Linked DNA regions of Homo sapiens: all the other regions are linked to region 3. The links are contacts of gene promoters, found by promoter capture Hi-C in blood cells and fetal thymus (Javierre and others, 2016). All regions are on one chromosome and are shown on one strand. The core of a region is centred on a gene start or on the middle of the fragment in contact, and the rest is flanking DNA. Distances in the headings are between cores, read along the strand shown. Region 1 overlaps ITPR1 (inositol 1,4,5-trisphosphate receptor type 1). Region 2 overlaps ARL8B (ARF like GTPase 8B). Region 3 holds the start of CRBN (cereblon). Region 4 has its middle 2.8 kb from the start of SETMAR. Region 5 holds the start of SUMF1 (sulfatase modifying factor 1). Region 6 has its middle 22 kb from the start of SETMAR. Region 7 has its middle 19 kb from the start of SETMAR.

Region 1 (3,535 bases), core at 737-3,236, 1.3 Mb before region 3:
AAACCTGAGGCCTAGTGATTTCTTGGAGGTCACACAGCTGATGAGTGCCCAAAGATAGACCACAGGGCTCCAGATACCAAGGCCAGTGTTTTTTGGTTTTGGGAGGGGGCGAGAGGGGGAGGGTGCTTATTTTGTTAAAAAGTTGAAGTCAGTCCCAGCCTGAAGAGACACCCCTCTGCCCACATAGCCCAAACCTCAAAAAACCAGCAAATGAAGTTAGGTCAATATCCTCAGAGAGAGACAAAAGTCTCACCAAGCCAGAAAAATTCACTCAAGGACAGGGTTTCTTAACCGGTTCACTACTGACATTCTAGGGCAGAGAGGTCTCCGTTGCGTGTGTGTGTGGTGGGGCAGGGGAGTGGGGGGCTATCCTGTGCACCATAGGATCTGTTCACAAAATGCCAGTAGCACCCCACCCCTGCCTGCCAGATAGAACAACCAAAAATATCTCCAGACGATACCAAATGTCCCCTGGAGGACACAAATCACTCTCCCTGTCCCCATTGAGACCACTGCTCTAGGACATAGATAGGTTTTGCTTTGTTTTTTTATCTGTAACGCCTTCTGCAAACATTTGTTTTTAGACAACTCGGCAGCAATGACCCGAAGCAGGTATTTTTATTTTTACACCTATTCTACAGAAGAGGAAACAGATGCACAGATGTTCCATGTTTTGCCCCTTACCCAAGAAGCAGTCAACACTCGGTACTGCGGAGTCCCCATCCTGTGGCTCACCAGGGCAATACCAATATGACCTGAAAGCAGCTTGGTTTCACTACCTGATTTTTCCACTCCCTTTTATGAATACTCAACAGTTTCCCAAGACAAATGTCCTGCAGAGATTTGTACTGAACAACACCTCAAAAGCTATCAAAAGGAAATGCTTAATATCTCTACATGGTCCTCACGTCACCCTCTGCAATAAAGGGCTTTTCTTTTTTTCTTTTTATTGAGATGGAGTCTCACTCTGCCCCCCAGGCTGGAGTGCAGTGGTGCGATCTCAGCTCACTGCAACCTCCACCTCCTGAATTCAAGCAATTCTCCTGCCTCAGCCTCCCAAGTAGCTGGGACTACAGGTGCCCACCATCATGCCCAGCTAATTTTTTTTGTAATTTTAGTAGAGATGGGGTTTCACCATGTTGGCCAGGCTGGTCTCAAACTCCTGACCTCAGGTGACCCACCCACCTTGGCATCCCAAAGTGCTAGGATTACAGGCGTGAGCCACGATGCCTGGCTGTAAGGCTTTTCAAAGAAAGATGCCAGTTCAAGAAATATTTAATCAGGAGAGGGGTACAGGGGCCAGGCGCAGTGGATCACGCCTGTAATCCCAGCACTTCGGGAGGCCAAGGTGGGCAGGTCATGAGGTCAAGAGATCGAGACAATCCTGGCCAACATGGTGAAATCCCATCTCTACTAAAAATATAAAAATTAGCTAGGCATGGTGGCACATGCCTGTAGACCCAGCTACTCAGGAGGCTGAGGCAGGAGAATCGCTTGAACCTGGCAGGCGGAGGTTGCAGTGAGCTGAGATCAGGCCACTGCACTCCAGCCTGGTGACAGAGCGAGATTCCTTCTCAAAAAAAAAAAAAGGAGAGAGGGGTACAAAAAATTAGTTTTTCCAAGCAGCCTTCAAAGGGAGAAAAAACATATATACAAATTACTTATTGTGTAAGCACTTCCTGTGTGCCAGGTATTCTTATGAGTTAAAAAAACACAAAAGGCCCAAAAGGAAAATAGGTTTTAGGGCCCTGGAGTTTCAAATGACAGATTTTCAAGTATCATAAAAAACTTCCCGGAGGAGGAAGCGTTTGGGCTGGGCCCTAAGGAATAGAAGGATCTGGCGAGGTGGACAGACGGGGGTGGGGAGGGACACATGAGGTACAACATACACACACACGACAAGGCAAACAAATGAATGTCCGTCGTCTGGGTGTCGTATCAGCTTTTTCTGTTCAGAAATATGTGCTTGGGATGCTTTTAAGCTGTTCTTGCAAAAGAAAATCATTTCCCAGACAAAGCTCCTTCTGAAATGCAAAAGAACAGCAAGAAACTTGGAGACTAGTGATATTTTTCTTATGTTCATCTTCTTCTGATAAGCCGCATTATATCAAGCCATCCAGAAGTTCTGCTGATGGGACAGGTCAGAAAGTATGATAAAACATAAGTTCCTCATTGTCCCATGACAGCAGGTGAACAGCAGTGACTTCACAACTCTAAGTAGGGGTACATGTGCCTTCTGGTCTCTTTCTGCCTTCATGTGAACAGCGAATAAAAGCTCCCCCAAATGTAAGCATCAAAGTTCCCATGTTTGTTGGAGAGGGAATCATGTGAAAACTACTTACTCTCACCTCAGGTTGGTGATTAGCCTACCTTTCCACTTCACTGAAAATAAGGCTGCAGGGGAAAAGTACAAAGGTCAGCTTCAGCCTGAACAGGTGAGAGCTAGCCATGAAAAAGCAAAGGAACCACTAAATGACAAGGACTGAAAAAGCACAGGGACAGGCATCCTCCAATGCATATCTTCTCGTATTTTCACGTGTGTGTGAATCACTTGAGGATCTTGCAAAAATGTAGGTTCTCATTCATTGAATGTGGAGTAGGGTCTGAGAGTCTGCAATTGCTAGCAAGTTCCCAGTTAATGTCAGTAACGCTGGTCTGGGGACCACACTTGGAGTGGCAAAGATGTAGTACAGTGTTTCTCAAACTTTTGACTGCAGCTCAGAGTAAGAAAACTATTGAACTTACAACCCAATGTTCATTGTGTATGTGAGACAAAGAATTTTGTTGCAACATACACAGTTCTTTTTAAGTATCCACGAAATACACTTCCATGTTTTCTATTCTAGTGCATGTCATTAAAAAAAAAAAAAGTTTGGCTGGGCCCGGTGACTCACACCTCCAGTCCCAGCACTTTGGGAGGCCAAGGCGAGAGGATCGTTTGAGCCTAGAAGTTCAAGGCCAACCTGGACAATACAGGGAGACCCAATCTCTACAAAAAAAAATTTTTTTTTTAAATTAGCCAGGAGTGGTGGGGCACGCTGGTGGTCCCAACTACTCAGGAGACCGAGGTGAGAGGATCGCTTGTGCCTGGGAGGTTGAGGCTGCAGTGAGCCAACATCATGTCACTGTACTCCAGCCTTGGCAACAGAGCAAGACCCTGTTTCAAAAACTAAAAATAAAAAGTTCATCAAGGCCCACTAAATTGATTTAACAACCTCTTAGTGGGTTTCCACAGAGTTTGAAAAACACGGATACAGAACAAGAGTAACATTCCTGCTCATCTGGGGAGAACAATGATGTCTTAGCCTCAGGACACTAAGGCTAAACCCAAAACCAATTTTTAAAAAAAGTTTAGATTATATTCAGAATTCTTTGCAAAAAGGCAAGGATAGGTCAATTGCATTTTGGAAATACTTTCACCTAGGAAATTCAAGTTTTAAGTTTTCTTCATTTTAATTTGTCTTCTCGTCTGTAAGATGAGGATGACAAGAGTACCTACTTGGCCCTAGGTGGAGATCTCTAAATACCATTTTGG
Region 2 (3,738 bases), core at 714-3,213, 1.9 Mb before region 3:
ACTTTCCACAGATTATCATTCCTTCTCCTAATTCATGTTCATAGATAAATATATAGTCCTCAAATGTTAGTCAGTATGCTTAAGATGCCTGGATTTAAAATGCTCTCTCTAGAGAGACACACAGTACTCATTACGTCTGTATTTCTTATTCTATAAAGCAAACATTTCATATACGATACAAAAACTGCAGCTGATTTTTTAAATTAAATTAAATACAAAAAAGATGTTTAATGGATTAAGATCTCCCAATCCACAGTTCTATGGTTCTAACCTCAGCTGGATCTAAAGAGGTGGGAAAAGTAGAAAGTACACTGGCCCCAGATTCTAATTCTATCTCTGCTACGAATTAGCTTTGTTGCCTTGGAATTCCACTTAACCTCACTGGATCTGCTAGCCACATCTAAAAAATGAGGGGAAAATTAGACTACTTAATCAAGGTTTCTACAAACTCTTTAAAAAATGATTCTAGGTTCATATTTCTACAGTCTTCCCAAATATCTTCTTTTCCTAATTCTCAGCAGTAATAAACTTTCCCTTGGATTAACCTTTCAGGTATCAACAATGTGCAAAAGTGTAGACAAATTTTTATACTTCCATTTAAAAAATACATAATGTCCATAAGATTTATCCTATATTATTTTGGCAAATCCTATTAGATATTTTTTAATAACTATAACATATCTAAAAGCCCCAGTTAAAAATAAAGATTACTCAATATACATTACACATATAGGCACATGACTTATTGTGCAATAACTGCCAGAACAGTTAGCAATGGAAAAAATACTTCATTCCTTGACACTAATCAGAAAAGACAAGACTAGGGTGTTTCTTTTTTATAATGTTCAAAACAAAAGAGAACACTACATATATCAAGTGTCTCTACATAAAACTGGATTAAATTAGGTATCATTTCAGTTTTAAAATCCTAAGGAAAGGCATTCTAAGTCTGAGCATTCTGTAACTAAGCTGCATTATCTTTTAGACTCAAACCAAACCCTACATATAATAGTAATTCAGTCTCATGAACCTTTTGAGTAAGTTAAATGACATCTATTAAATCTTCCTTAATGTTTAAGGCACATGTAGTGACATTTTAATGTTTACAAAATGTTGATTTTTACAAAAAGAAAATTGGCTTCAGCTGAAGCTTTTCATACCTGAGAAGTCGCTTCTTAAATGTGAATAAGTAAATGGTCACCTTTCTAGAGTGACACATAGTACTCAATACATCTGTATTTCTGATTCTATAAAGCAACTATTTTATATACAATACAAAAAGTGCAGCTGATTTTTTAAAAGGCTAAACTTACTATTTTGGACACATTGTTTCTACCTAAAAATCTCTAAAATCATCTTTAATCACTAACTTGGATTTTAATCACTACATCCTCAACATATTCTATAAGAATCAGGGGTTAGGTTAGAGCCTTGAGGTTAAAAAAAAAAAAAAGTATGAAATTCACTGAGGGGGTCCCTTTCAGCATCTTAAAAGCCACAGCCAATTACAGCCCAGATGTCTTTTTTCTTTTTTAAATTAATATTACTTTTAATTGACAAATCATAATTGTATACATTTATGGAGTACAATGAGATGTTCTGATACATGTTTACAGTGTGGAATGACTAATTCAAGCCAATTACACATCCATCACCTTATCTTTGTGACTTTTTTTTTCTTAACTGAAGCTACCCACACCATTACAATTTTAAAAAGAATAGTCTAATGATAACAGTGGGCTGGGCACAGTGGCTCACGCCTGTAATCCCAGCATTTTGGGAGACCAAGGCAGGCATATTACTTGAGACCAGGAGTTCGAGAACAGCCTGCCCAACATGGTGAAACCCCGTCTCTACTAAAAATACAAAAATTAGCTGGGCATGGTGGCAGTCGCCTGTAGTCCCAGCTACTCGGGAGGCTGAGGCACGAGAATAGCTTGAACCCAGGAGGCAGAGGTTGCAGTGAGCCAAGATCATGCCACTGCACTCCAGCCTGGGCAACACAGCGGGACTCCGTCTCAAAAAAAAAAAAAAGATAATGGTGGAGCCACTGGTTCACTTTGACTTCAACAGCTTTGCAGAAGTTTTGTTGTTGTTAAATATAATAATCTAATGGTGGGGGCGGGGCAGGGGGGAACACATGATGCGATTACTTTCCCCAATCCATAAATCCACTACTGCAGCCCACATCTGGATAGATACAGTGATTCAAAGTAGAAAATGATACCAGTTGAGTCCCTTCTCAGTATTTTTCAAGCCATCGTTCCTGCATTAAACAGGTACGCCCAATTACAAATAACAACAGTTACCATCTACCTATCCCCTTCTGTGGGCCAGTATGAGTGCTAGCCACTTAACATCTTTCATGTCATTTAATCCCTAGAGCAACTCTGTAAGAAACATATCATTACCTCCATTTAATAGATGGGAAAGTAAGGACTCAAAGAGGATGTAAGGCTGCTAAGCGGCAGAGCCAGATTTCAAATCCAGGGCTGTCTGACTTCAAAGGTCATGCTCATTAAGCTACACTGTCTACTGAAAACAGAAGCATAAAAATCACCAAGAAGTTTCTCAAAGATTTGCTCAACTTTTTAGAGTTCCCAAGCATAACAACTCAACTGCAACAAATACAACTGGCTGTATTAATACACCTATCCACATGAAACATTAATTCCATGTTGTCAAAGAGCAAGTTTTACAAGATGACTCCAATTCTCATCTCAAGGGGATATGAGAAAATTTACAGTTAACTGAGCTCAACTTCACTCAAGCTTATGCCTCATCTTTTCCATATTATATAAAAGCTCTAGCAGGCTTATAATCCCAGTATGCTGGGAGGCCAAGGCAGGAAGACTGCTTGAGGCCAGGAGCTCAAGACCAGCCCTGGCAACATAGCAAGAGCCCGTCTTTATAAAAAATAAAAATTAAAAATAAATAGCGAGCCATGGTGGTAGCACATGCCTGTAGTCCCAGCTACTTGGGAGGCTGAGACAGGGAAGATCACATAAGCCCAGGAGTTGGAGGCTGCAGTGAGCTACGACTGCACCACTGCACTCCAGTCTGGGTGAAAGCTCAAGACCCTGTCTCCAAAAAAGAAAAGAAAAAAATTCTAATATAAATATGTAACCCGAAGTTCATGTTTCCTCATTAATTTTAGTGGTATTAGGCCAGGAACGGTGGCTCATGCCTGTAATGCCAGCACTTTGGGAGGCCGAGGCAGGAGGCTCGCTTGAGCCCAGGAGTTCAAGGCTGGCCTGGCAACATAGGAAGATCTTGTCTCTACCAGAAAAAAAAAAAAAAAAAAAAAAAAAAAATTAGTGGTATTAGATACACATTCCACTCTTCTATTCCTGCGGAAAGATAGTCATTCCAAGCGCAAAAAATCATAATATTACAATAGGAGGCCAGGCGCGGTGGCTCACACCTGCAATCCCAGCATTTTAAGAGGCCGAGTCGGGCGGATCACATGAGGTCAGGAGTTTTGAGACTAGCCTGAGCAACAAAGCAAAACCCATCTCTACTAAAAGTAATTAGCCGGGCGTGGTGGAGGACGTCTGTAATCCCAGCTACGCAGGAGGTGGAGGCAGGAAAATCGCTTGAACCTGGGAGGTGGAGGTTGCAGTGAGCTGAGATCTCGCCACTGCACTCCAGCCTGGGGGACAAAGCGAGACTCCGTCTCAAGAAAAAAAATTAATAATAATACTACTAGAAAAGGAGCCGAACAACAAGCAGGTAAAT
Region 3 (3,720 bases), core at 1-2,500:
CGTTAAATCATTACGTAGTATATGTAATTGTTATTAACCTCATCGTAAAAGGTGATGCTATGATTCATGTTGCAGACATTATTAACTGGAACAAATAGGCGACACTATTTGGTTCGTTCTTATTTTGCAAATGGGCGAATTGAGGCCCGCAGCCATAAGTGATTTGACGAAGACCACAGACTGATTCGGAGACAGGAGGCAAAATGACACAGGAATGATTCACAAGCCTCTGTCACAAGGGAGTTTTCTGCTTGTAACTTATCAGGGAGGCAAATTTTCTGAAATCATTTTTTCAAATCTCAGATCCATGACTTTTCTGTTGAGCAATGCTGCTGCTTCCTCTCAGCCTCCGCCCACCACCACCACTACCATGTTTAGATGTTGTATTTCATTTAAGGATTTTTCAGTTTTCCTTCCTCGCTGAAAAAGTGATACTGAAATACACTACGAAAACTTTTGTCCTCCCTCCAAAACAAATATCTTACCAGTCACAACTCCACCATTATAACAGAATTATCTTCATTTTTTACATAGTCTTTCTTTTTTGCCACAGTGACTTGTTTTTACATAGCTGAAGTCATAATGAGTAGGCTAGTTTATATTCAGACAATTTTATTTACCAATTATAAGGCGTTTTCCATTCTGTGCAATCATCATTTCAAGTATGTTTCTGATTAATACTTGTTAATTTTGGAATGTAATGTACATATATGGAAACTACTGAAGTTATTGAAGTTGTATGTACATACATTGAAACTACTGAAGAAAATCAGCAATAATTCAACCACCCTCGGAATAACTGATGGATTTCCCCAGCCTTCACATATATGCTTCTTATTTTAAGAATTGAAACTAATGCTGCATGAACAGGTTTCTATTTGCTCCCTGCCCCCTTCGTTTAAAAACAAGGTGGAGACTAAAGGCTCTCAGCCTCAGTTTCTCCATATGCAAAATATCAGGATTAAATAAGTCATGCTAAGGGCTGGAACAAAGTGAGGGCTCTGCAGCGTGTACGCCGGGCACTCAGCCGTGGATGGCAGGGGACGGCGTTCTGTCCCCGGGACGGAGCGCAGGCCTGTAATTGTCCCTCCCGCCTAGGCCATCACTTTCAGGCTTGGGTACGCGCCGCCGTCTGCTCCCCTGGGGCCGCCAGGGGGCGCTGTGGCCCCGGTGCGCGGCAGCCGCGCGACACGGGCCCTCCCTCGGAGTCTTCGGCACCGCCCTGTCCCAGCCTCCTTTGCGGGTAAACAGACATGGCCGGCGAAGGAGATCAGCAGGACGCTGCGCACAACATGGGCAACCACCTGCCGCTCCTGCCTGGTAACCGCCCGGAGTAGTTCCCTGTAGTCGGGAGTGGGGCGAGGCTCGGAGCCGCTAGCGGTGCAGCTGGGCCTGGGAGGCGGGCGTGGGGGCGCCAAGCCTGGCGAGCCAGCCCAGCAGGGCCGCACCGGAAAGCTGCTTCACGTCGGCCCTCGGCCAGCGATGGAGTCGCGGCGCTTTCTTCGCTGCTCTGTTGCCCCGAGCCGTGAGCCAGGGTGTCGGGGGGAGCATTTGCTATTAAGAACAGGAAACCCATCCTCTCCATCCTCCTTGTGTTCTGAGTTTAGCTCCTAGGAAATGCTCTGAAACTAGAGGACCGGGTCAGATTCACAGCGGTTACTTTTGCTGGTCTCCTTCCTTTTAATAAGAGTGACAGCTAACATGTACTAAGCACTTACCATGTTACGAGCCGTGCAGTTAACGCTTTGCATGCATGTCGCCTTTTAATCCTTCCCACATCAGTTTTCAGTTTCCGATTTGATAAGCGAGTATTGGATTTGCAGATTAGTTCAATGACTTGCCCAAGGTCACACAGCAGAGTCAGGATTCCAACCCGGGTGTGTCTGTCATTATATCTCTAAACCACTTCTCTGTTTTGTTTTTCTTACTATCGGTCTTTCTCAGGCATGTACGATTATGCTTAATCAGAGATACTTAGTTTTTCTTTTTCCTGTATGTTGTGTGAAATGTTTAGACTTTGGCCTTGTGTTGAAATACTGAACAAAAAAAAAAATGCATGGAATATTGCATAAACTTTTCATGGAATGCCTTTCAAGAGATGCTTTCCAAAAGGTGTATCATCCAAACTTGAAAGTATTACTTGAGTCCCTTCGTTATATGACAAGTATGTTAGGTGTTGTGGAGATGAAACGAGAGGTAATACACAATCTGATAATTGAGGTTTACTGTCTAGGCGGGGCTGCTGAGAATATAACTAAACGTAAATCAACTGCAGAGGCGGTTGATTTAGGGCCAGATAAATGAATGCTGTTGTGGCTCTTCAGAGGCAGAGGTTGTTTAAGGGTCAGAGGATTTGGGAAAAAGCCTTTCAGGTAGATCAGGAGACATCTAAAAGCACATATTTAGGATATGGTTGTGGGACATAAGGCCTAGGAGGTATATTGGGTCTAAGTTGCTGGGAAACTGGCATCTCTTGCCAGTGGGTTTGGGTTTTTCCTGTGGATTGCCAAGAAACAGTTTTAGGTTTCAGGTAATTGCCTAAAGAAATCTATGCTTGGAAGATTAATTTGTCCACTGGTAGCAGCATGGATTAAAAGAGGAAGAGACTGAGTGCGTGCCCACCATATAGGAGAGAACTTTTCTGTAAAAATAAACCATAGTCACTGGTTGTTCTCGAAGCCATTCTAGCTGAGTTGACACAAGGGTAAGTGTGCCAGCCTTTGATGGAAAGCTGAGCTATTTTTTCAGAGACATTAGCCCTACTCTCTGTGCCAAATCCGGTGTTTCAGGGAGAATGGTGAATAGAAGAGGGAGGATACTGATCTTCTGTCGACATTCACATCGTGCCTCTGCATGAGATGAGTCATCAGACTTCACTGATAGCTCTGAACAGTCAGCGTGGTTTTTTGTTTGTTTTTTTTTTGTTTGTTTTGTTTTGTTTTTTGTTTTTCAGAAAAGCGTCGGGAGAGGGCCCAGAGATGGTGTAGATATAGCAATAATGCCTCTCCAAATTACGTAAATTTTATTTGTAGGGAAACACTGGGCTTTCCATAATTCCATGTAGTACGAGTTGTTCTGAAGAGTAAATCCTCTAAGTTCCAACAAAAAGCTTTATATTTGAGATGTGAAGAGTTTATCCTAGGCAAATGAAACATTAATAAACATAACTGAGTAGGGGAAAGTGGTTTTTAGCCATATTTATGAAAAAAAGGTTACTAAAGAAATTATTTAGAGACTAGGAGTCAGAACAGTTAAAATGTAAATTTTTAACAATATTAATTCCAGCCTTTGAGCTAATAGTTTATCTTTTAAACTTTCTGTAGTAGAGCAATAAAGTGGGTTGTGCTGCATGCCAAGTGATAGCCATACTGTCAGAGTTGGAAATACAAACAATTTGATGCAGAATATTTTTGTCATCCATTTAGATAGCTCTTTTTTTATCTCAGTGAAACTTACATGTTCCAAGGAAAATTTGTATGAAGTGTTAGACCATTGGCTATTTACATATAAGTTGAAGTAATTCTGTTTTTGACAAAGTTTTATATCTAGGAAGTTGTAATAATAAATAGAAAGTCCAAGGCAGTTACCATATTGAAAATCATTTTTATTTTCTGTCAGGGGCCTGGCTAGAGGTGGTTTGACTTAAATAATGATATGCAAAGGAAAACAAATGATTATTTCGTAATGACATTTTATCGATTTAGAAGTTTATTTGGGGCA
Region 4 (3,963 bases), core at 775-3,274, 1.1 Mb before region 3:
CCTCATTATGCCCTTCTTCCTTTTGGAATTCAGGAAAAGCCAGCCAGCATCAACATCAACACACACCTTAAGTCTGATAAGAAACATTTACAATCTGTTCTCTGAAATTTACCTCTTGGAGGCTTCATCTCCACGATCAAATTTGGTATCCACAACCTCTTATTGCAACCCAGACATTCGTTTCTATTGATTTTAGGTCTTTAGATAATAACCAGTTGCCAATCAGAAAATCTTTAAATCTACCTATGACCTGGAAGCCACCCCTCACCCGCTTCTCGTTGTCTGCCTTTCCAGATCCAACCAATCTTACATGTATTGATTGATGTATTATGTCTCCCTAAAATGTGTGAGAGTAAGCTGTATCCCAACCACCTTGGGCACATGTCATCAGGACTGCCTGAGGCTATGTTGGGGGCGCATTCTTAAGCTTGGGAAAATAAACTTTCTAAATTGAGACCTGTCTCAGATAATTTTGGGTTCACAAACCCTTCTGACCTTGCAGCTTCTGAGGTCCCATTGGCCTAAATGTGTTTCCATCTTGCAGACCTTTCCTTGTTAGTATCCTCTTGTTGTTTTCCTGCCTGACTGTTTCTGAAAAGTGGGTGTGATTCAGGGTTCTGCCCTTGACCTTTTTCTTTGCTCCCCTTCCCTGAACTTTCTCATTAATAACATCCACTCCCATGGCTTCAAATATAAAGGATTAGGTCACCAGTCTCCAACCCAGATCAGACGTTTCTCCTCAAATCCAGTTACGCATATTCAGCTAATGATTGAGCATTTCTGTTTTCTGTCCTACAGGCTCCTCAAACTCAAAATAATCTGAATTGACTTCTTCTGCCAGTCTTGCTTTTTCTTCTTTAAAGTTAACTGGGAAAATAATTTGTGATCTACAGAGCCACTAAAGCAACAAACCAGTTACTCTGTATTCCTTCACTTCACTAGACTCATATAGCTAAGGACGTGGTGGGTAAGTCTTGTTGATTCTGCCTTCATGTTCTCATTTTTGCCTCTTCTCACTTAGTCCTAGGCTCTCTCATTTCTTGCTTGGACTTTGGAAGTTCTTTGCTTTAAGTCTGTCATTCTCCATATCCCCAAATCACCCTTACTGCCGCTGCTACAATGACCTTTGAAGATCCTTGTCCAGTTATTATATTTTGCTGCTTAGATTCTTATTTGCTCCATTTTCTCTCAAAGTTTACCTTCTATATTCTGTCTTATGAGCCTTTGAGGACCCAGACTTTACCTATTTCCTTGGTCTCTTTTGCTGCTGTTCTCTGTTGGAACCCCTTGTTCTGTTGACATTCCCTCAAAAAGCCATTCTACTTGGGCCTCTGGGCCTTTGTCCACATTGTTCTTGTATCTCCAGTGCCTTTACCCAGGACTGTCTGTCTGCTCAGCTCAAGTAGTCCCTTCTCTGTATCTTTCTTTACCCTGTTTCCCTTAGCATTGGTTACCCTCTTTACATTAGTTCTCCTACTTTATAAGCCATTTCTTATGTTCCCTGCAACTATTTAATGTAAGCACAGGCAAAACCATCTTATTGAACTCATAAAAATTATATATATATATATTGGTGGAGGGTGGGGAGATAGATAGATAGAGAAACATTTTGTTTTAACTTAAATGATTTTGGTACATTTATATGCTAGTCTTTTGATGTAGGGCCAAAAGAGAAGGAGAGCTAGAGTGTGTGTGTGTGTGTGTCTCTGTATGTTTGTTTTCTACTGATTAGAGCTCCAGGTCAAGCTTACTCTGAGTTCCAGTTTTGGTGTCTTTAAAGTGGGGTGGGAACTAAAGGATAGTGAAGCAATGGGATATCATGATCTGTTTTCTTTCCCTAGTCTTTTATACTTTTCTCACTCACACCCACTTCAAGGGCAAAACATTTTTTAGTGACTTGCTTTTTTTTCTCCAAGTCTTTACAGAATGTTCTACTTAGTTATCCCAGAAGGGAGAAACTCTTTGCACTCATAGTTCATCATCCTTTTTTCATAAAATTATAATAACAGTTATACCTGGCATTAATAGGTTTGAGAACAGAAATTAAAGATCAGCCTTATAAATGTGCTATTCATGAGCATGTATAAAATCACATAATTTTGCACTGCAGTACACATCTGATATAAAAACTTTTTTGAGTACACATCTGATATAAAAACTTTCTTGTGTTGCTGTAAAGAAATACTTGAGGCTAGGTAATTTATAAAGAAAAGAGGTTTAATTGGCTCATGGCTCTGCAGGCTGTACAGGTAGTATGGTGCTGGCATTTGTTCGGTTCCTGGGCAGGCCTCAGGAAGCTTTGAGTCATAGTAGAAGGTGAAGAGGAAGCAGGCATCTCACATGGTCAAAGCAGGAGCAGTGAGAGAGAGTGGGGGTTGGGGCAGGTGCCACACACACTTTTAAATGACCGGATCTTGTGAGAATTAACTCACTGTTGTGATGACAGCACCGAGGGGATGGTGCTTTAGCACCCATGGGTTTAATGAGAAACCCGCCCCCATGATCCAGTCTTCTCCTACTATGCCCCACCTCCAACACTGGGGATTAGATTTCAACATGAGGCTTGGATGAGGACAAATATCCAAATTATATCAATAGGGAATTGATTCTATGTAGAAAAGAATCAAAATGTAAGAGTTAGGGGCACAGTATCTGAAATCAGCCATGACTAAATTTATATTCCTACTCTGCAAATTTCTGACCATGGGAAATAATAGCTAACATTTATTGACTTATTATGTACCAGATACTGTTTTTTTATTTTTTATTTTTTGAGGTGGAGTCTCACTCTGTCACCCAGGCTGGAGTGCAGTGGCGCCATCCTGGCTCACTGCAACCTCCACCTCTTGGGTTCAAGCAGTCTTCCTGCCTCAGCCTCTTGAGGAGCTGGGATTACAGGTGTGTGCCACCACACCCAGCTACTTTTTTGTATTTTTAGTAGAGCTGGGGTTTCACCGAATTGACCATACTGGTCTCAAACTCCTGACCTCAAGTGATCCACCCATCTCCACCTCCCAAAGTGCTGAGATTACAGGCATAAGCGACGACATCTGGCCCAGATATTGTTTAAACATTTGATATGTATAAATTCATTAATACCCATAATATGGTACTTGAAACATCTACCACAGGGTCATTTCAGGTTCAACTAAACATTCGGGTTCACAGGACTGTCACTGGCCACACTTGGCATTAGCTTCACTTGAGATTATAGGACAAGAGCCAAAGCCTACCAGCAGAGAGGCCTCAGGTGTACCCCTTCTGTGGGAATAGTGCTTGCAGTCCACACAGCAGGTCACAGAGCTGCCTGGGAGCTGTTTGTTCTCCCAGAGGGTGGCTCAAATGCAAGGAGAATATATCCCATTAATAGGGTGTGGGGGAATCCTGAATTAGAAGCCTTGCCTCTCAGAAGCTATAGATTTTAAGGTAGCTGCCTAGTAAATATTTTATCAGATATAGTTGTGTACCTATCCTTCCTTAAAAGAAGAGATAGTCATGTATATGATACAATTAGCTGCTTATAGTATAATTAAGAAACATAAGAAGGTTTAGGTAAAGTGCTATGGATCTTTAGAACTGGTAAAGATTACTTTTAGCAGGGGAGATCATGAATGATGGATAGGATTTAGGCATTCCAGGTGGAAGGAACAGGAGAAGCAAAGTAATAAAAAGAAAGATGTGGATAGGAAAGAGTAATTTCAGATTGGCTGGAGATAAGGTTTGTTTCACCCTTCAGGAATTTTGAATAGTATGGGAATTTCTCAGATATTCAGAGAACATGCTGTTCATTCATTTTAAGAAAAGTTTGACCACTGATTACATGCATGGTCCAGTTTACCAATTAGGGGAATGTATACATGAAGAAGACATGGTACCCTAGAAAAGCTTGCAGTGTAACAGACAAATAACTATATACTTACAGAATGTGATAGAAATTGTAAGAATGTTGTGAGAAAAGAATTA
Region 5 (3,526 bases), core at 896-3,395, 1.3 Mb before region 3:
CGTTACTTCATTTGTTCATTCACTTATCCATAATTTAATAAATGTTCACTGAGTGATCATGTGCAGGCTTGGCCTGATTTTGCTGATACAGTGGCAAACGAATAGGCTCCTGCCTTACCTTCATGGAGGTTATAGCCTAATGGTATAGCTGGACCAGGAATCAAAGAAGTTCAGGTCTCTGAAGCGCAGCTGACACAGCATGTGCTGAGACTGATATTTGAAGGAGGCGAACAAAGATTACCGTTGACCTAGACCTTGACTATATATTATGCACAGTAAATACATACAACCTTGGTTAAGGCATTGACCTTTTAGCTTCATCAATTTTGAAATGAGTATAGTAATAATACATTTCTTGCCAAGTGGTTGTAATCTCAAATGAGAAAATGTGTGAAAGGCCTTGGCAAACTGTAAAATAGTCAACAAGGAGAAAAGGCCTTTTTTTTTTTTTTGAGAGATGGTCTCACTTTGTCACCCAGGCTGGAGTGCAGTGGCACAATCATGGCTCACTGCAGCCTCTGCCTACCAGGCTCAAGTGATCCTCCTGCCTCAGCCTCCGAAGTAGCCAGGACCACCGGTGTGCGTCACCATGGCCAGTTAATTTTCTTAATTTTTTGTAGAGACAAGGTCTTGCTGTGTTGCCCAGGCTGGTCTCAAGCTCCTGGCCTCTAGCGATTCTCCTGCCTCGGCCTCCTAAAGTGCTGGGATTACAGGCTTGAGACACGGTGCCTGGCTGGTCTTTTCTTTATGCTAAAAAAATTCAAACAGATGCTACATTAGAATAGTGCAATAAACACCCAGATGCCCATCAACCAGCTATGACAGTTATCAACTCATGGCCAATCATGCTTCATCTTTAGCCAGACCCTGATTACCCATTTTTTGGGAAGCAAATCTTTGACTGCCTATATTTTTATCCATATATATATATGTGTGTGTGTGTGTGTGTGTGTGTGTATACCTCAGTGAGTGTGTGTGTACCTCAGTGAGGGGATTCTTTTAAAAAATATAGCCACAAATACCATTATTACTCCTAAAAGCCTAAAAACAAAATTTACAGCAATTCCTTAATTTTATCAAATATTATAATTTGACTTAGTGGTTAAATTTCCCTGATTATCTCAAAAATTTTGAACTCAGTAGGTTTGAATTAGTATTTAGATAAGGTTCACATATTGCAGCTGGCTGCTATGTTTTTTTTTTTTTTTTTTTTTTCAGATGGAGTCTTGCTCTGTCCCCAGGCTGGAGTGCGGTGGCGCCATCTCGGCTCACTGCAAGCTCCACCTCCCGGATTCATGCCATTCTCCTGCCTCAGCCTCCCGAGTAGCTGGGACTACAGGCGCGTGCCACCACGCCGGGCTAATTTTTTGTATTTTTTAGTAGAGATGGGGTTTCACCGTGTTAGCCAGGATGGTCTCGATCTCCTGACCTCGTGATCCACCCGCCTCGGCCTCCCAAAGTGCTGGGATTACAGGCTTGAGCCACCGCGCCCGGCCTGCTATGTTGTTTTTTAATCTGTAAGTTTCTCCTTCATCTTCTTTTTGTTTTGGTTTTGCATTTTGTTCGATTACGGAACTGTAGAACAGTGGTTCTTAAACTTAAGTGTGGATTAGAATCATCTGGAGAGCTTGTGAAACCCTGGATTGCTGTGTCCAGTCCCCACGGATTCTGATTCCGTATTGTATTTCTCTTTTTTTTTTGAGACGGAGTCTTGCTCTGTCGCCGAGGCTGGAGTGCAGTGGCGGGATCTGGGCTCACTGAAACCTCCGCCTCCCAGGTTCAAACGATTCTCCTGCCTTGGCCTCCCGACTAGCTGGGACTACAAGCGCGCCATTACTGGGTCTTTGTGAGGATTAAATGAGATTTTAAAAAGTGAAGTGCTTAGCATAGTACTCTGGCACTTACCAAATGCCCAGCAAATTTGACTGTTATTTTTCAACCAAGAAATCATAAAGGGGTGCACGGTCTGTGGAAGGCCTTGAGTTTTGTGGAGTTTTGTGTTTTGCTGCGTTTTGACGTTAGCACAGGCAAGCAGCAGCGCCAAAGAAGTACCTGAAGAAAGGTGAAGAGCAACTCTCCTGGTCACTTCGTAAGTCAGCTCAAAATTCTGCCCCTTTAAGGAGGGCTCAGCCACGTGACCAACCGGGTCACATGGCCCGCGGGACAACATGGCTGCGCCCGCACTAGGGCTGGTGTGTGGACGTTGCCCTGAGCTGGGTCTCGTCCTCTTGCTGCTGCTGCTCTCGCTGCTGTGTGGAGCGGCAGGGAGCCAGGAGGCCGGGACCGGTGCGGGCGCGGGGTCCCTTGCGGGTTCTTGCGGCTGCGGCACGCCCCAGCGGCCTGGCGCCCATGGCAGTTCGGCAGCCGCTCACCGATACTCGCGGGAGGCTAACGCTCCGGGCCCCGTACCCGGAGAGCGGCAACTCGCGCACTCAAAGGTGCTCCATCGATTCCTCCGAGGCGGGTGGGGGCTGCTCGGTTCCTGGACGGGGTTGGAGTAGGCAAAGCAAGGCACTAGTAGGAAGGGAAGTAAAGGTTATAACCACACCCCAAATCGAGCACCTGCTGTTCCCGTATGAGGAGTTCCTTCTCCGTGCCTCACCGGAAGACTCCATTTAATTGACCATTAGGGAGTTTGGTTTGAGGGTTATTGTTACTTCTTTACCCCCTATTTCTTTCTCCCTCCAACCTGTTCTCTTAATGAGGATCTCATAATTTTAAGGCAATCAAATTATGGTTTAAATCACCATTTCCTCTCTTATTAACGGAATAAATTAGGATCCTGGGTCTCAGTATCTTCACCAGGGTTGTTGTATACTTATCTGTAGTCTCCTCGAGTACACTCTGCTTGAGGACAAGGGCTTGAATTGTTTATCCTGCTATTCTTAGCACTTTAGCACTTAGGAAGGGCTAAGCAAACTGTAGTTGTTTTATTGCTATTATTTATCTGTCTTGCTTAGCGCCTGTATGTGTTAGGTGCCGGGATATATAAATAACTTACTGGCCGGGCGCGGTGGCTCACATGCCTGTAATCCCAGCACTTTGGGAGGCCGAAGCGCGCGGATCACGAGGTCAGGAGTTCGAGACCAGCCTGGCCAACATGGCGAAACCCCGTCTCTACTAAAAATACAAAAATTAGCCGGGCGTGGTGGCGGGCGCCTGTAATCCCAGCTACTCGGGAGGCTGAGGCAGGAGAATTGCTGGAACCCGGGAGGCGGAGGTTGCAGTGAGCCGAGATCTTGCCACTGCACTCCAGCCTGGGCGACAGGGCGAGACTCCGTCTCGAAAAAAAAAAAGAAAGAAAGAAATAACTGTTACTTCAATCTGTCTGCCCGGTATTTTGCATATTGATGTGTTGTCGAAACAACTTATGGGTCTAAAGGTCAGGTCTTCTGACTCCTAAACTAGTGCTCCTTCTTGTTTACTTAGCAGACACTATCCTTTTCCCATTCCATTTTTCTTTCCTTTGGGTTAATCCTGACCAATATTTAGGACTTAGGTGAGAGGTAACATCCACAGTAGGTTT
Region 6 (3,956 bases), core at 1,062-3,561, 1.1 Mb before region 3:
CATTTTCTCTGTTACCATGTGGGAAAATAAGGCATGCACTGATCCCTCCAAAGGTATTCGTTACTTAGGTTATTGTAATTTGTTAATCTTTTGCTCTTATTTGAATTTTAACAAAGGGTTCCTGGAGTCAAAGCTTTAACCAAGAAAAGGCAAATACTTAATGAAATTTAATGAAATTTCACATGGGTTGGAGAACGTATTAATATTTGGAGACAGGCTAACATTAAGGACCCCTAAGTTTATCCCACAGACTGCCAAATAGTTCTAGTTGAACGTATAGTTCTTTTTTAACAACAATAAAAGGATGAAATGATACTTGTTTCTTTTAATACAAATGGGCATTTGAAAATTCCTTTTCACAAGGTTTTCTGTGCTTCATTGTTGCCTCTAGAAGTTGAAAGTGGGGGTGGTTTTCTTCAAGAGATTGGAACGAAAAGGAACAAACTTGTAGCAGGTTTGCAAGCCTTCTCTCCTTAGCTATTTCTCTATCTCTAAGAGTCTAAAGATCCTCAAGGGAGAGGCACCAAATGCAGGTCATCAATTCCATTCAGGTCCACAGTCTGAGCTCCTAAAATGGCATAATATGCAGTCTGAAAAAGAGAGGCAGTCATCTAATTCATTTTGTTCTCAGAGTAGAGAAGTGTAGTACATGATTACAGATTGAGCCTTTAGGAGAGCAATAAAAATAGCTCTGACAGCCATTTCCAATAAAAAAATAATTTTTCACTGAGCAGAGTAGTCAATCAATGAAGACATTTTTGGAGTTCTTGTTTGGTAGTATGTTTGGAGATATTAAGTCTCCAAAGGCAGTCATGGGAGAAAGGAACATGTGATTGACGCAGGACAAAAACAAGATACCTTCTTTTAAGAGAGTGTTTTATGACTTTTAAGTTTCAAAATAAGATTTTCTTTTAAAATCTTTCTCTAAATAAGAATTGACTGAGCAACAGTTCTCCCACTTTCCACTCTTGCGCTGGTATCGTTATTTTCACTGAAAGTGCCATTTAGTGTAAAAGGGTTGAAATTGTAATAACTGTGGTCTAAGAGCCATTCATGTTACCATAAGGATTTTTCCCCACTCGCAGTACCAAGTAGTTACTTCTTTGCTCTGATAAGGCAAGAATTAGGGAGTACAGAAATTGTAGAAGGTATGTGTGAATTGATTTTTATTCTAACTAATTATTGTAGAAATTAAGAAGAGCAGTGTATTAACTCCACATCCTTTCCCTCTGTATATTTCTTCCCTTTAAAAGGCAAAATTCAAAATTCTTAGTACTGTATTTTATTAGCAACCAGGTATTTCTTCTGGTAAAACTGCAATAAAGCTTTTTCCCTTGTATTCATCTGAATGTGATTTCTTTCTGCAGCTGGATAAGTACATTGATTTTATGTTTCATGGAGATTAGACGTTTAACAAAATGATAATAGGGATTACTGATTCTAATTTTTCCTACATTGTTACTGGATTTAACTGTCTTTTCAACCCACACAGAGTCTTTAAAGATGTTTTCTCTTTGCTCTAGACAACATTAAATGTATCACGATAATGACAAATCAGTCATGTTAAATAAAATTAAGGTTGTAAGTTTTTACCAAAAGACTTAAGCCAGCTTCTAAATACCTATACAATCTTCTTCATTCTGGCTTGTCTTTGCTATTTTACTGAATTTGTCTTTCTTTCTGAAATCTTTTTTGTTGTTTTTTTGAAGAGGAAGTATGTTCACATGGATTAAAAACTCAAAAGAATATAAAAATATGTGTTAAGGAGTCTCATTTCCACTCCTGTTCCCACTTTTCTTCTTCTTTCTGTACTCCTTCCACTCTACCCTCCAGGTAATAACTTTTATTGGTTTATTGTAAACTCTTCCAATTGTTTCATGTAAATACATATATTTATTTTCCTTTCCCCCTGTTTTTTCCCCCAAAAGTTTGTTTAATATGTAAATTATTCTAAACCTTTCTAATTGTTACTTCTTCTAATTATTTTCTCTCATCCCTGAACTGTAAACATCTCTCTGAGATTTTTTGGCTTTTTTGGTCAGGCAAGTCTCAGAGCGCTGGTTCTGCTACTTATTAAGTGTGTGGCCTTGGATTAAACTTGAGAATCTCAGTTACTTTACCTGTAAAAATGGAATTATCAATATCTATGGCATAGGATTGTTATGAGGACTAAATGAGGTAACTTACAGCTAGTAGCCAATGTGGATGATCAATATATCTCAGTTACTCTTTCCTTTTCTCTGGCTTTTTCTCTCTCTCTCACAGTGAAATCAACCCTCTCCACCATCCCTTCCCTGAATCAAAGCTATAATAACATCACAAAGAGTCTCCTTGTCTGTAATATAGCTCCTGTACATCTCTTCTTCACAGTGCAAGTAGAGTGGTCTTTCTGTGGCTTGTATCAGCTGCACAGAGGAGCTCCGTCAAAGGGCATGTTATACTCTTCACCATGCTCTTCTTATCTGTGCAGTTTCATTGTATATGGTTTTCTCCTCGCCCAGAAGTCCCAGTCCCTGCTTTTCCATTTGACAAGCTGTTATGGATTGATTTGTGGCCCCCCGACCCCCACTGTTACCCCACTCAAAGATGTTGAAGTCCTAACTCCTAGTACTTGTGAATGTGACCTTATTTGGAAATAGGGTCTTTGCAGGTGATCAGGTTAAGATGAAATTATTAGGATGGGCCCTAATCCAACATGACTGTGCCCTTATCAAAAAAAGAAGTTTGGACACAGAACACACACACACACACACACACACACACACACACACACACACACACACACACACACACGGTGAATGCCATTTGAAGATTGGAGTTATACTGCCATAATCCAAGGAACTACCAGACACTAGGAGGGAGGCCTGGAACAGGCTCTTCTCTAGCCACCCTCAGAGGGAACAGAGCCCAGCACGCACCTTGATGTTGGACTTCTAACCTCCAGAATAGTTAGACGGTAAATTTCTGTTGTTTAAACTTCTCAGTTTGTGGCGTGTTGTTAGGACAGCCCCAGGAAACTGATACGCAAACCTTTTAAATTTTCATCTCAAAGCTACCTTCTCTATAAAGCCTTCCTCTCACATAAGGGGTTCCTGCCTCTGTGTTTTTTTTTTCCTCTATTAGATTATCTGGCTTTATAAAAAAAATTTTAAGTCAAGGTACTTCAAGTTCAGTACCTCTAGACCGTGAGCTACTTGAAGAGAGCCATTGCACTTTTCATCTTTGAATTCCCAGTGGTCCACAACATACAGTATGCACCAAGCAAACCTAAGTTAAATGGAGTAGGCTAAAGCTTTTTAGGACCCCGGGGTGTTCTTGATTACATCTTTGGTTACATTTGTAGTGCATTTATAAAATGCCTCTTGGAATTTTTTAAAACATTTTAATTTTTAATTGACAAAAATTCTATATATTATGTACAACATGATGCTTTAAGATATGTATACATTGTGGAATGGCTTAAGAGAACTAATTAACATCTGTACTACCTCACATAACATCTTTTTTGTGTGTGGTAAGAACACTTAAAATCTACTGTCTTAGTGGTTTTCAAAACTGGAATTGTTGTCTTCTTACAGATGGCTAGTGTCATCTCTTATGTATATGTTTTTACTAAAGTTGAGTCACATCCTTTAAAGAATACAGCTTTAAGGATTCTTTAAAGTTAGCTTGACTATATAGCCAAAATTAAATTTAAAAATCTTTAAAAAGTGTCTCATAAGATATAGTACATGCAGTTTTTTGGTGTGTATGCCATCTGGTACACTAATTTTTATGCATCCTAAAGTTGATAATTTTAGGAAATGGGTTCCCTAAATAAAGCCAGGAACTGGGAAAAAGTGGTTCCATTTAAAAAATTATCTTCCAGCCTGCTGAGGTGGCATATGTAACTTGGTTCGTATTATGAGTCTCTTGTCAGAGTATAAACACAACATGGCTTTATTTTTTTTTTGCAT
Region 7 (3,801 bases), core at 155-2,654, 1.1 Mb before region 3:
CTGTATTTCTTTTGAGCCCAAACAGATAACTGTAATTTCACAACCCCATGTCAGCCTTATTTCCTCTACTCCCTCTTTTCACATGTTTACTTCATCTGATGTAAAAATGTAGATTTACTGAGCATGAGACAATGCATAATCGACTTTTTCCTCTCCTCCCACTTTTCACATGTAAAATGTAGATTTAGTGAAGCTAATCAGAGCCTCACAAGAATCTAACCATCTACCTCACTGCTCATGCTCACTCCCACCTCTTTTTGTCCCCTCTCCTGCTTACGTTTTCCCCTTTAAATATTCAAGTTCACGAAATCCTCTTTAGAAAACTCATAGGTCACAGATGCTCTTGTGATTTATGGTTTTCCTTGGCACATCCTCAACCTTGGCAAAATAAACCTCTCATTGATTGAGACCTGCCTCAGTCACTTTTTGGTCTATATTATAAAAAAGATTTTCACATAGTTGGTATTCTATTAACAATGATACCAAATGAGGCCATCTTTCTTCAGTCAGTGTAGGTCTTTGACATTTTTTTTTTAATTAATTTCAATTTGAGAAAGCGTCACTCTGCTGAGACAGAGTTGAAAACAAACCATGAAATGTATGTATCATGTTCAAACATTCTAATGGGGCCACATTTGGTAAATTATTATTGCAGAAAACAAAAAATCTTAATTTCATCACATAAGCTATCACTTATGCTGTCTTTTTCATCATCTGCTAAATCTATACAGTAATATAAAGAACCAGTATCAAATTTCTAGACTTACACGTACACAGATTTAAAAGTAATAGGAATTGGAATTCTAAGTAATAGGAATTGAAAACTGTACATTGTTATTCATGAATCTGTTACATTTATGCTGAGAGGAAGAGCTGTCAGGTTAATTAATCTATCTCTTATCTATCTGACTGAGCACTTCTGTCCACATTCTCCCTGCACCCCAAAGCTGTGTCACTCTCTGATGGTGGTAATGGCCCAACCCAGAGCATTAGGCACAGTTATGTTTTGTTTTTGAGGACAGAAAGTAAGTGGAGTAGCATTTTCCTGGGGCCTAAAGCATTCTTCCCAGAAACAAATGTTCAGAGTCACAAGTTACCAGTTTCTAAACCAGAGGTACCAGGTGGTTGTTGTCCTCCTCCTCATTCTTCTGCTGCTCCTCCTTCTCTTTCTCCTCTTCCTTCCTTTTCTTCTTTTTCTTATAATATCTTTAAGGAGATACAATTCACATACCATAAAATCCACCTAATTAAAATGCTTTTTAGTGTAGTCACAAGTTGTGCAACCATCACAACTAATTCTAGAATGTTGCATTACCCCCAAAAGAAACCATGTACTTGTTGGTGTTAGCAGTCAATCCCTATACTCCTTCCTGCTCCCGGCCCTGGCAACCACTAATCTACTTTGTATCTGTATGGAGTTGCCTATTCCAGATAGTTCATGTAAACAGAATACCACAAATGTGACCTGTTGTGTCCGGTTTCTGTCACTTAACATAATGTTTTCAAGGGTCATCCATATCAAGGGCATTTTTTGGTATTTCATTCCTTTTTATGGAATGGCCAAATAATATTATGACCAAACAATATTCCATTGCATGGATACTACATGTTGTTTATTCATCCATCAGCTAATGGATATTTGGGTTGTGCCTACTTTTTTTTGCTATTATGAATAACGTTATATGAATATTTGTGCATACTTTTATGGCTAAATAATATTTCACTGTATGGATACTATATTTTGTTTATTCATTCATCGGCTAATGAATATTTGGGTTGTGTCCACTTTTTTGTTGTTATGAATAATGCTATATGAACATTTGTGCATACTTTTTTTTAAGACAGCATCTTGCTGTGTCATCCAGGCTGGATGTGCATACACTTTTTGTAGACATGTTTTCAATTCTATTGGATCCATGCCAGGGGAGTTACTGGGACATGTGGTAATTGTATGTGAGCTTTGAGAAACTGCCAAACTGCTTTAGAGTAGTTGCACAATTTTGCAACCAACCAACCAATATATGAGGCTTCCACTTTCTCCACATCCTTGTCAATGCTTATAATTGTCTGTCTTTTTTCTTTCTTTTTTTTTTTTTATAGGCAGGTCTCCCTCTTTCACCCAGGCTGAAGTGCAGTGGTAGGATCATAGCTCACTGCAGCCTTGAGCTCCTAGGGTCAAGGGATCCTCCTGCTTCAGACCCCTAAGTAGCTTGGACTGAAGGCATGCAGGCATGCACCACCATTTCTGGCATTGGCACATTTTCATTTACCGTAGACTTTCATGGAATAGTTTTAGATTTTCATAAAAATTGAGAAGATAATACAGAAAGGTCCTATATATCCCATAGCCAGTTTCCCCTATTACTAACATTAGTTATGGTACATTTATATTACATTATTATACATATCAATATATATTATTATGTATTGATACATACCTATGATATTATACATATCATTACATTATGATACATTTGTTACAATTAAGAACCAATATTGATACATCATTAACTAAAGACCATAGTTGATTCAGATTTTTAGTTTTACCTGTCTGTTTTGGTTCTAGTATCTCATCCAGGACACCACATTACAGTTACATATCATGTCTTCTTTGACTCCTCTTGGTTGTGACAATTTCTTAGACTTTTCTTGTTTTCCAAGACCTTGAGGAATAATGTTCAAGTATTTTGTAGATGACCCTGTATTTAAATTTATCTGATTCTTTTCCTCATGATTAGTCTTGGGTTATGGGTTTGGGGAGCAAGACCACAGAGTTAATGTACCATCTTTATCACATCCTGTCAATGGCATATACTACCAACATGATTTATGACTGTTCATATTGACCTTGATCACCTAGCTGAGGTCATTTGTCAAGTTTCCCCAGAGTAAAGTTACTCTGCTCCCCTCCCTTTCCTCCACCCTCAACTTTCCATTCTACACTCTTTGGGAGGAAGTCACTATGTATAGCTTACACTAAAGGAGTAGGAATTTATGGTCCCCCTTTTCGTGGGCAGAAATAGCTACATAAGTTATTTAGAATTCTTATGCAAAGTTAGATTTGTCTTTACCCCATTTATTTATTGATTCAATCATTTATTTATATCAGTATGGACTCAGATTTTTATATTTTGTTTTATAATCCAGTACTACTTTATTTATTATCTTGCTCAAATTATTCCAGATTTGGTCACTGGGAGCTTTTACAATTTGTTTCTATACTCCTTTGACACCCCCATCAATGTAGGTTTCTTTCTTTTTCTTTTTTTTTTTTTTTTTTTTTTTAGCATTTCCTTACTTTCTGGCACTACAAGATGCTCCAGTCTCAGCTTGTTGATTTCCTTCTTTAGTAGCAGAATTAGCCATTTCTCCAAAGAACCCTGTTTTTTTGTTGTTGGAGAATGGTATAAAAATCAAGATCTGGGTGCTAAATGTGCTCCTTGCTACTGGAGCATCATTGCTTCTAGGCTGTCTGAGCTGACAAAGAAAGGAAATATATGTGTGCATACTAACTGTAATATACTAACTGTAATCTAGAAATATTTCTATATGTAACCTTCTGTATCTATACTAAGCTAAATGTGAGTTCATGCTGATGTCTCCAATTGATCCATTACCACATGGATCATCCTTCCTTTGCTTAAATGTAAATTCCCAATCCAACAGTGAGAAACCTGGCTCCCACGATCTGCCATCAATTTGTTTAATTCCAGTATACATGTAAGGCAATAGCAGAGTTGTTAATATCAGAATTATATCCTGTTAAGGCTCAGAAAATGATACCCCAACGTATGGTCCTTT

What was found. Contacts are between HindIII fragments. The CHiCAGO score rates a contact against its expected background, and 5 or more counts as called.
Region 1: a contact is called between a fragment that was not itself captured here and the fragment with the promoter of CRBN in region 3, in 1 of 17 cell types (total CD8 T cells). The highest score is 6.7, in total CD8 T cells.
Region 2: a contact is called between a fragment that was not itself captured here and the fragment with the promoter of CRBN in region 3, in 3 of 17 cell types (non-activated CD4 T cells, total CD4 T cells and naive CD4 T cells). The highest score is 6.4, in non-activated CD4 T cells.
Region 4: a contact is called between a fragment that was not itself captured here and the fragment with the promoter of CRBN in region 3, in 16 of 17 cell types (total B cells, naive B cells, total CD8 T cells and 13 more). The highest score is 33.6, in total B cells.
Region 5: the fragment with the promoter of SUMF1 here is called in contact with the fragment with the promoter of CRBN in region 3 in 3 of 17 cell types (erythroblasts, naive CD8 T cells and total CD4 T cells); the score reaches 7.7 in erythroblasts.
Region 6: a fragment that was not itself captured here is called in contact with the fragment with the promoter of CRBN in region 3 in 15 of 17 cell types (M0 macrophages, total B cells, M2 macrophages and 12 more); the score reaches 21.1 in M0 macrophages.
Region 7: a contact is called between a fragment that was not itself captured here and the fragment with the promoter of CRBN in region 3, in 5 of 17 cell types (M2 macrophages, naive B cells, monocytes and 2 more). The highest score is 7.9, in M2 macrophages.

Annotation. Positions count from the first base shown.
Region 1 is chr3:4,500,501-4,504,035 of GRCh38, reverse strand. The region is part of intron 2 of ITPR1 (inositol 1,4,5-trisphosphate receptor type 1); the gene reads right to left. Among named protein-coding and RNA genes, the nearest start is that of ITPR1, 8.9 kb to the right of the region's middle. RefSeq lists an enhancer at 836-925. The HindIII fragment of the contact is 6,282 bases long and covers 1-3,535 here.
Region 2 is chr3:5,123,833-5,127,570 of GRCh38, reverse strand. All of the region lies in intron 1 of ARL8B (ARF like GTPase 8B), which reads right to left. All of the region lies in intron 1 of LOC124906212 (a long non-coding RNA gene), which reads right to left. Among named protein-coding and RNA genes, the nearest start is that of ARL8B, 3.4 kb to the right of the region's middle. RefSeq lists a silencer at 1,533-1,827. The HindIII fragment of the contact is 1,621 bases long and covers 1,153-2,773 here.
Region 3 is chr3:3,177,221-3,180,940 of GRCh38, reverse strand. It overlaps CRBN (cereblon), which reads left to right and starts at 1,250. Exons shown (of 11, transcript NM_016302.4): 1 at 1,250-1,320. The coding sequence starts at 1,254. RefSeq lists a silencer at 1,017-1,186. The HindIII fragment of the contact is 7,719 bases long and covers 1-3,111 here.
Region 4 is chr3:4,298,620-4,302,582 of GRCh38, reverse strand. It overlaps a transcript of SUMF1 not described here. Among named protein-coding and RNA genes, the nearest start is that of SETMAR, 2.8 kb to the left of the region's middle. The HindIII fragment of the contact is 551 bases long and covers 1,749-2,299 here.
Region 5 is chr3:4,465,888-4,469,413 of GRCh38, reverse strand. It overlaps SUMF1 (sulfatase modifying factor 1), which reads left to right and starts at 2,145. Exons shown (of 9, transcript NM_182760.4): 1 at 2,145-2,438. The coding sequence starts at 2,169. It overlaps LOC124909340 (a long non-coding RNA gene), which reads right to left and starts at 2,590. Exons shown (of 2, transcript XR_007095789.1): 1 at 1,906-2,590; 2 at 15-750. RefSeq lists an enhancer at 1,919-2,098 and a silencer at 2,269-2,448. The HindIII fragment of the contact is 8,038 bases long and covers 1-3,526 here.
Region 6 is chr3:4,279,652-4,283,607 of GRCh38, reverse strand. It overlaps a transcript of SUMF1 not described here. Among named protein-coding and RNA genes, the nearest start is that of SETMAR, 22 kb to the left of the region's middle. The HindIII fragment of the contact is 1,967 bases long and covers 1,328-3,294 here.
Region 7 is chr3:4,320,955-4,324,755 of GRCh38, reverse strand. It overlaps a transcript of SUMF1 not described here. Among named protein-coding and RNA genes, the nearest start is that of SETMAR, 19 kb to the right of the region's middle. The HindIII fragment of the contact is 5,965 bases long and covers 1-3,801 here.